Linked DNA regions of Homo sapiens: regions 2 and 3 are each linked to region 1. Evidence: promoter capture Hi-C in human tissues and cell types (Jung and others, 2019). All regions are on one chromosome and are shown on one strand. The core of a region is centred on a gene start or on the middle of the fragment in contact, and the rest is flanking DNA. Distances in the headings are between cores, read along the strand shown.

Region 1 (3,090 bases), core at 1-2,500:
GCAGACACCGCAGAAAGCGGTCGAAGAGAACGTGAAAGAAGTGGCCATTTCTAGCTGGGCGCGGTGGTTCACGCCTGTAATCCCAGCACTTTGGGAGGCTGAGGCGGGTGGATCATGAGGTCAGGAGATCGAGACCATCCTGGCTAACACGGTGAAACCCCGTCTCTACCAAAAAAAAAAAAAATACAAAAAATTAGCCGGGCGTGGTGGCGGGCGCCAGTAGTCCTAGCTACTCGGGAGGCTGAGGCAGGAGAATGGTGTGAACCCGGGAGGTGGAGCTTGCAGTGATCCGAGATTGCGCCACTGCACTCCAGCCTGGGCGACAGAGCGAGACTCCGTCTCAAAAAAAAAAAAAAAAAAAAAAAGAAGTGGCCATTTCTGCAACTTTTAGGAGAGCTACCTGCCCTCAAATTTTGAAAGGGTTTCTATTTCTTAAAGTGCTACGTTTCCCTGGCTGAAACTCACATCTTTCTTCCCTCTAGGGCTGGATCAAAGCTTCAGAGGTTGTTTCTCTGGCCCTAGACAGGGCCACCCCCGCAAATTTCTCCCCCACTGCGCCTGACATCCGCTTCCATCCATGGCTCCATTAACGGAAGCTAAGCACTGGCTCGGGGGACTTTATCCACCGCCCGGTGTTATTAGATTCCAGGCTTCCTGGCCTCAGGAAAGGATCTGGCTCGTGTATTTGTGTATCGCAGCTAACAAGGAAAGGCAGTCGGTACCAGTGCCCAGAGCTATGTGAGCTGTGACTGGTCACAGCCCAGGAGCCAGATGGCATCCCCGGGGGCGCGCGTCCCCGGACTCACCGGGCAGACGGAGGCCCGGGGCTTCACACCTTCCCCTCACCGGGCAACGCGGCAGACCTGACTCGCGGGGGACTGAGCAATATTCGTTCCAGGGCCGCGGCCAGCCGGACAGAGGCACTCGGGGGCGGTGGGAGTAGTGTGCGCACCGGTTCCGCAGCCCGGAGGGGGCCCCAGCTGGGCTTCCGCGACACCAGGGCCCTCCATCCCCTCCCGTCCTCCCCTAGCGCAGCCTTCACCCCTGTCCCAGAGCCCCTCCCTGTCCGCGTCCCCTCCCCCGCAGGTCCCCTGCGAGTCGGAACCTCCTCTCCATCACAGCCCCGCTCCTTGGCGGGGCCCCCTCTCCCTTCGAGCCCTCCTCCAGGTTCGAGCCCCCTGCGGGTACGGACGTCTGACCTGTGCCCAGCGCCTCGCAGCCGTCTGCAGCCCGCGCCGCGCGCCAAGTGCGTCCGCCCAGAAGCAGGTGCAGCTCCAGGCCCGCCCCGCCCCGCTGCGCCCCGCCCCGCTCCACTCCGCCAGGCCTGGCAGCCGCCAGCCCCTTTCCACCCTTGACCGCCCTTCCCGGTCCCGGCCAGCGTGCGGGGCATCTGTCGTCAGGTCCGCACTTCCTCCAGGCCTTTGACTTTCCCGTGGAGATGTCTCTGGCCTCAGGAACTCCCTAAGCTGTGTGCTTCAGGAGAGGCTGGTTCCTGAGTCACCCAAGAGGACTGCAACCAACCTGGACCTCCTGAGATGCAAAGAGATCGCAGGGCCTGGGAGGCGGCGAGGACCCTGAGAACAGGCTGTGGCTCCGAAGAGTGTTTGTTACCAAGCCAGGCAACCACTGCGAACACACCGCAGAAACAGCCACGGATCACCGTCCAGCAAAGGAAGAAGGTGCCAACGGTCCATCAGGGACCACAACCCAGTTTTTTTAGTTTAAGTTTGGTGGCTAAGTTTGAGTGTCACATAGTTCATTCATTCCTTCATTCATTCAACAAATCTGCCATGTTCCCATCTGATAACAGATCTGACAGGTGGGCACTGTTCTAGGTGCTGGCGATAGAGCTAAGAAGGAAACAAAGTTCCTGTCCCGGAGAAGGGGGCTACCTGCTGAGGAGAGCATGACTTTCTTTGTGGTATTGTGCTGTGGCAGCAGGGTCCTCTTCTGTAAGCTACTGAGAGGTGAAACCCGCTGGGCTTCTGGGTCGGATGGGGACTTGGAGAACTTTTCTGTCTAGCTAAAGGATTGTAAAAGCATCAATCTGCACTCTGTGTCTAGCTAAAGGTTTGTAAACACACCAATCAGCACTCTGTAAAAATGCACCAATCAGTGCTCTGTGTCCAGCTAATTGGTGGGGACTTGGAGAACTTTTCTCTCTAGCCAAAGGATTGTAAATGCACCAATCAATGCTCTATGTCTAGCTAAAGGTTTGTAAACACATCAATCAGCACTCTGTAAAAACGGACCAATCAGCACTCTGTAAAATGGACCAATCAGCACTCTGTAAAATGGACCAATCAGCGCTCTGTAAAATGGACCAATCAGGAGGATGTGGGCAGGACCAATCAGGAGGATGTGGGCGGGGCCAATGAGGGAATAAAAGCTGGCCATCCGAGCCAGCGGCAGCTGCGTTTGGGTCCCCTTCGATGGTGTTGGGGTTTTGTTGTTTCGCTCTTTGCAATAAATTTTGCTGTTGCTCACCTTTTAGGTCCACACTACCTTTATGAGCTTTAACACTCACAGTGAAGGTCTGCAGGTTCACTCCTGTAAACCAGCGAGACCAGGAAGCCACCACAAGAAACAACTCTGGAGCCGCCACCTTTAAGAGCCATAACACTCACTGTGAAGGTCTGTGGCTTCACTCCTGAAGTCAGCGACACCACGAACCCACAGGGAGGAGCAAACAACTCCAGACGCACCACTTTTAAGAGGTGTAACACTCCCTGCGAAGGTCTGTGGCTTCACTCCTGAGGTCGGCGAAACTACGAACCCGCTGGGAGGAAGGAACAACGCGGATGCGCCACCTTTAAGAGCTGTAACACTCCCTGCGAAGGTCCGCGGCCTCACTCATCAAGTCGTGCATAGACCACGAACTCTCTAGAAAGAAAAAACTTCGGACACACCTGAACATTTGAAGGAACAAACTCCGGACACACCATGTTTAAGAACTATAATGCCGTGAAGGTCCGCGGCAGGACCGGGACCAGGAACTCTTCAGAGGGAACCAATTCCGGATACACAGCTTCGTGGAATGGTTCTGCACTGTGTGTGTGTGTGTTTCCCGTCAACCCTGTGCACACTATT
Region 2 (3,172 bases), core at 113-2,612, 1.8 Mb after region 1:
TTATTTGTCTTTAGTAAAATAAATCATAACAAGCATATACATACAAAAATGTAAGAATGAGATATATGGAATGAAAAATGCATAATGATAACTTTTAATAGGCAGCTGCTCTATCATGACAAAAAATACACAGGAAAGACATGAACTAGCTTTTGAGTTTATGATAAAAAATTTAGGCTAAAAAGCTATTTAATGTTTGGAAAATGAAATTTCTAATAGAAATTTTATTAGCCAGGCTCTAATTTATTTCTGTTCTAAAAGATAACCATGGATTAAATGAAATAAGAGTCTCTGCTTTCCTAAGAACTTACATTACATGAAAACATTGCCTCAGTCTCAGTCCCTGCTAACAGTAATTTTCATAGTACTTCCCAATAATTTTTACATAGACTATTTTAGCCTTTAGAAAAATGCTCTAATAAAATAGCTGCAGCAATTTGCAGACAGGGAAGCTGAGAAGAAGAGGTTAAGTAAGTTACACAACCATGTGGAACAAACGGCCCACATTTTCCATCTCCAAATCAGGATATTTCCAAAACTCAACTTCACATCTGTGGTGTGTAGCACATTCCTAGCACGAATTATCATAATAAACAGAGGGAAATTCACTTTAAAACAATAAATTATTATGCTTGGATAATGGCAAACGATGGGTCATTACTCAATTAACAAATTTGTAAATTTGTGTCTTAAAATTGTTTGACTAGATTTTGGCTTGTGTGGTTGGCAAAGAGGTTGTGAAGTTCAGATTTCCTGCTGTGGAGAGCCTAATTTACTCACCACCCCATATGGACCTCCTACTGTGTTTCTTCCTGCTACTCTCAACCAATGACTGACTGCATTGGGTACTAGGGCAGGCTCAGTCCTGTGGGAGGTAGGACTTTTCATAGGTGTTAGCCTCTGAAGGCTCTCCCTACCTTCTCCTGATCCCTCCGTCAATAAATGTCTCACACATCTAATCTCAATTTGGAATCTGCTTCTTAGTGAACCTGAACTAATGAAATTTGTATCATTGCCCTTCCTCATGTTCCCCTTTTCAATTAATTAATGTGTCCATTCTCCATGTCTACATGGATTTTCTCCTTTCTATGTGGAATCTCCAAAATGTAAGTGCAGATCCATATAGCTAGATCTGATAACTAACTGGTTGGGAATGAAATATAAATGCAGACTTTCCCAAGCTTGTTTAAATCTTCCAGAGCCTATTAATGTAAAATCAAAAGTCAGGGAGATATGTGGTCAAATTGGGATAAAGAAGGGCATAGTGAATCTCCTCTGCAGGTTTGTAGTCCACTTTCACCTTTTAAAGAGTGAGAAAACCTATCATTGAACAAAATAGAAAGTTTAATTTTGTTTCTCTATTTAAGTTTATCTGTTTACACCATATTTATTTATTATTTTCTCAAGAAAGGAATATTTTCCCCCAGGAGAATATTCCTCTCCACCACTTCTGTTTCTAAGAGTTCTAACCATCTTCAGCTGCAATATGCGTCACTTATAATCTCCCTCTAACTTTGTGTGACTGTGGAGCTTAAAGTTGGAAAGCATCTCCTCAGAGAGAAAGACTATTGGTGAACTATTTTTTTTTTTTACTATTCACAATAAAATTACAACTTACAGACTGCAAATTGAATAGTATCATAATACATGTTATTTTTCCAAAAATTGACATACCATAACTTAGTGGGTTTGTATTTGTGTGTGTAGGATGTGCTTAGTATTACATGCTGTGTTTTACTGCAAATCTCTGTTATGGATCATTAGCTGAAACTTATGTTCATCCATAAAAAAATTAGGTCCCACAAAGGTGAATTTTACCCAAAACATTTTCTCCTCCTTCTAAATTAAAATCATCAAAAGATAATAATAACCAAGACAAAGACTAATTCTGAATAGAATTTTATCACACCCTATTTTACAGAGAAGGGAAGAGATACACAGGGAGTTTACATAACTTGTCAAATGTCACTTGGCTAAATCGGTAGGTTAAATAGGGATATGAACCCAGCTGGTTTCATTCTTAACCACTCCAGATTATTACCTCTCAAAGTCTTGGGAATTAGTTCAGCAACAGTATTTTAAGCAATAAGATTGGCAGTTAGAAGGCAAGGGAGCTTCAGTTTTAAAATTCTGACTGAAAAGACTCTTAGCATCAAATTTTATACCCAGATACACTATCAGATGTGATGATAAAATATTTCTGATATATTGGAGCTGAAAAACTAACTTATTACCACCTTATTTCAGGATGATATTATAATATGTTTTTGAACAAAAAATTAAAGAAAAAAGAGATCAAGAGGAAAATTTTACATCTAGCAAAAAGAATAACTAATGTAAGTGAGCATCAAAAGAAATATTCAGGTTTATACCTGGAAAGAAGACCTTCACAGAAAATAGTACAAATTAGAACAGAGGGCAAATCTGAGTATATGAAAAATAATGCTTTTGGGCCTATGGCAGAGATTAGAATTCTTGAAAAAATATCAGTTACTTTATGGAAAACTAGGTAAATGAAAAATTGAGGAAATAACTCCAAAAAGAAGAGCAACAACAGCATCAGAGGGCTTATAGGAAAGATGGAAGTAGAATAGTGAACAATATTTGGATACTCATAAGAATGTGAACTATCGATTTTACTAAAAGCTGTGATATAACTATGTTAGGAAGCTGGGAGTAGGTGAATCTGGGATGGTAGTGGGTGTAGAAAAGCTAATCCTCATCTCCAATTGTAGGTTATAAGTATATAATGTGTAAAACTTAGATAGATTGATATACACACACATAGAGACACATGAAATATATACATATATATATATGTCTGTGTGTGTGTATGTGTGTGTGTGTATCCATTCTCTTAGATGGGTGAGATCCAATTTGATCTTCCTATTTGTGGTTTCATTGACATTCCTTCCTTTTGCTAGGCATATATATATATACACACACACATACACACACATATACATATACGTAAATATAACAGATATATATATATAAGTCTAGCAAAATAAACATACTATTTAGACATATGAAAGCTAAGATCATGTGAAATAACCAGAAAAATTAAGAAGAGTTACCTGTGGAATAAAATGCCTGAGGAATGGGATGGGGTGGAACAGGATACTCTTTCACTTTAAGACTTTTAGAATTATTTGACTTTAGAAATCATTTA
Region 3 (2,971 bases), core at 188-2,687, 1.8 Mb before region 1:
TGAGTGTGTTTAGTTTGTGACAATTCATTGAGCTGACATTCTGTGCACCAGGCTATATGTATGTTATTGGGGAACGTTATCTGAAAAAAAAAAATGAAGCCTTTCTTCTATCCTCCCTCCTTCATCTTTTCAGTCTCTCTCTGTGTCTGTCTGTCTCTCTGTCTTTGTCTCTCTCTCTGCTTTTCTTTCTCTAAGAAGTCTCCAGTGGACTAATTTCTATTAATCCCAAGAAGCGACTGGATTGCCTTTTGTGGATTTGATTAACTCTGAATCCCGAAGGCACCTGTTCCTTCCTCTGCCACTTTTCAGAAATGGAACAAGAGAGTCTCCCCTTGCTCAGAGGGGTCCATAAAGACCATCATGGGGGGACCTTATCAGGGTGGCCCCCCACATCTGCATTTCGGCCTCTGATGTAGTCAGGTGCTTTCAAAGGGACACATTCATCTCCAGAAAATGTGATCACTTTACACCCTTAAAATAGAGCTTGAGTATTTTTTTAAATGATGTGGTTTCCTCTACAAGGTTGATTTCTGTATAAAAGACAAAATAAACTCAATAGGCAGTGTAGCACATCCTACTTTGTAACTGTTTCCAGCTCAGTGACAGATAAACAGAATAAGGTGAGGTTGTTACTTACAACCCAGCAAGCTTTTCAGGTTATGGTGATTTTTAAGTACTTGGAATCATTGATAATTTCTTTTTTGAGGGAGCAAAAATGCTTTAGGTATATGAATGCAGCCAACTAAACTGTATGCTCTGTGGAGACAGAAATCCTGGCTGCCTGATCATCACCACCTCCTGGATTCCTGGCATGCGGTAGGCATGTGAGACATACTCCAGGAAAGAATGAATGAATGGCTCCAGCAAACTGAAGCATGAACCAAAGATAGAGGGACTCGCCCTGTGCACAGGCTGTGGATTCCTCCGTGATTAGCGTGGATGGGCACATCTGACTTCACAAAGCACAAAACAATCATTTGTTAAATGTCCATCCTATGCTTAGTAAAATGTTAAGTGCTATGAGTAATACAACACTATGAGTGGCCATGAGTCCTACTGTCAAAGGCAGGCCCTAATGAATCAGCAAATAATAGAAGGAGCTCTCCAATGGCTCAGAACTTGTAGCAGGATGAGCTCTGGGTGGGAGCCACTGGGAAGACCTCCTGTGATGTCCCTGGCTTATGAGGCCACAGACACTTGCTTAGCTCTGTACCTGCAGGACCACAATTAATATTTAGGACTGCTCTGTGCAGTAGATAGTGCTGTGCCCGTTCTACAGATGAGGACGCTAATGAGACCACTGTGCTGCCATGATCTGAGATCAGCTGCCTGAGATCACAGTGCTGATCAGTGGCCCTCTAAATGCAGAGACACGATGCCATGTTGCCACTGAATGATGTGCTGGAAACGCTGGTCCTTGAATAAGGGCAGGACGCAGAGGGACAGGATACCCAGGCCGGACCGCACTAAGGGACCTGCCAGAGAATCGCCCTTATGAGCCAAGAAAATGGAATCTGAACCCTATTGTCTGCCTGTGCCTTCAATCACAAATGTGAGGACACAGCCTCTGCACAGAGTACAAGGTGCCCCAGGAAATGACTGGGGCAAAAACCCCCTGACATGGCTCCATCACTGTCTTTCACAGAAAGAATTAAGAGCCTTTAGTGACCTCGGTCAGAGCAACTGCCTTTGTGGGTGAGAGTGGATGAGGAGACTCAAGGTCGGAGCGGCCAGGGTAGGCCCTTCATTTCCTCCTGCCCAGCTACGGCAGCCCCGAGGTTTTTCCTTGGCTAACAGTGGAAGAAAAGCAGGATACAAAATGGATAAGTTAACAAAGCAAACACACACCATTATCTCCTTTCCATTCCCAGCCTACACATTGGGTGCTTAAATTGGGCTGTGTGCTTCCTCCCAAGGGAGGGAGAGTGGGCCTGGCCCAGAGGGGGACACACTGGAGCCCAAAACCATCTGCGGGGGTCACTCCAGGCAGGCGCACTGCAAGTGTCCTCCATCCGCGTCCCTATAGAGAGGCCTAACCCATCGCTGATTAGTTGTTTATTTAGTTACTGCTGTCTTGCTCCTAGCATGCTGCTATCCAAATGAATTTTCATTTAAACATGCAAGCAGCCGAAGATGGGATTTTAAAATGGAAATACTTTGGACTCTCTAACATGATTTGGTATAAAATGGAATTCGGTGGACAGCATGGCATCTGTCTCGGACTTGAGCCAAGGGCTTTAGTTATGGAATAATCAAAAGGAACTCATTCTAATGATATCTCATATTTGTATACGATTTTTACTGGGTGCAAATCTTTCTCACATATATTTCCACTGGATTCTCAAAACAGTCCTGGGAGGTAGGATGTCCATCCATGCTGCCAAGGAAGGGGCTCAGGCCCAGAGAAGGAAAGTGACTTTCTCAAGGTCACCCAGCGATCACACAAGAGAATCAAAAGTCAGCCTTGATAGTCTGATTGCAAACTTCACACCCACACTGCCACTTAAGGTAGTCTCTCCACTGCATGGTGGGCTTATAAAGTAAAACTCCGGTATAGAGAAGCCCCTGTGTCTATGGGCACCCCATGATTGCTGTGGGTCTCCTAAGCAGGTGAGTTTCTGAGATCGTTTGAGATAAGTTGTTTCTTCAGAGCTATTTCCCTTCCTCTTCCTCTTTCTCTTTTTCTGTTTTATTCAGGAGAACGCCAATTTGAAGTCTAGTGTACCAATGAGAGCACCTGGACGGAAGGCAACCAGTGTGTTAGTGACAAATGCAAAATCATGATGTTGGCAGATGAATGCCACCCAAGGAGCACTCCTGGAGGGTCGGTGCGATTGCTCAGCTTGTTAGCTCAAGGGCCAACAGGAGAGTTGCTGGGGTGCTCTTGTCAGGGAGGGGAACATCAGGACACATCTCTACTGTCTCATCCTGCCTGCAACAGAACATGACCGAAAACAGTGGCCTAGGGGCA

Evidence for each region. The method cuts DNA at HindIII sites, captures the fragments that hold promoters and counts their contacts. A contact is called where the count stands out against the background at its distance.
Region 2: a fragment that was not itself captured here is called in contact with the fragment with the promoter of TMEM45B in region 1 in 1 of the 25 tissues and cell types used here (stomach).
Region 3: a fragment that was not itself captured here is called in contact with the fragment with the promoter of TMEM45B in region 1 in 1 of the 25 tissues and cell types used here (aorta).

The regions. Positions count from the first base shown.
Region 1 is chr11:129,814,008-129,817,097 of GRCh38, reverse strand. It overlaps TMEM45B (transmembrane protein 45B), which reads right to left and starts at 1,250. Exons shown (of 6, transcript NM_138788.5): 1 at 1,200-1,250. It overlaps LOC124902793 (a long non-coding RNA gene), which reads left to right and starts at 2,411. Exons shown (of 2, transcript XR_007062952.1): 1 at 2,411-3,090. The HindIII fragment of the contact is 7,942 bases long and covers 1-3,090 here.
Region 2 is chr11:128,042,932-128,046,103 of GRCh38, reverse strand. No RefSeq gene overlaps it. Among named protein-coding and RNA genes, the nearest start is that of LINC02725, 51 kb to the left of the region's middle. The HindIII fragment of the contact is 4,935 bases long and covers 1-3,172 here.
Region 3 is chr11:131,622,684-131,625,654 of GRCh38, reverse strand. All of the region lies in intron 1 of NTM (neurotrimin), which reads right to left. Among named protein-coding and RNA genes, the nearest start is that of NTM-AS1, 39 kb to the left of the region's middle. The HindIII fragment of the contact is 6,012 bases long and covers 1-2,971 here.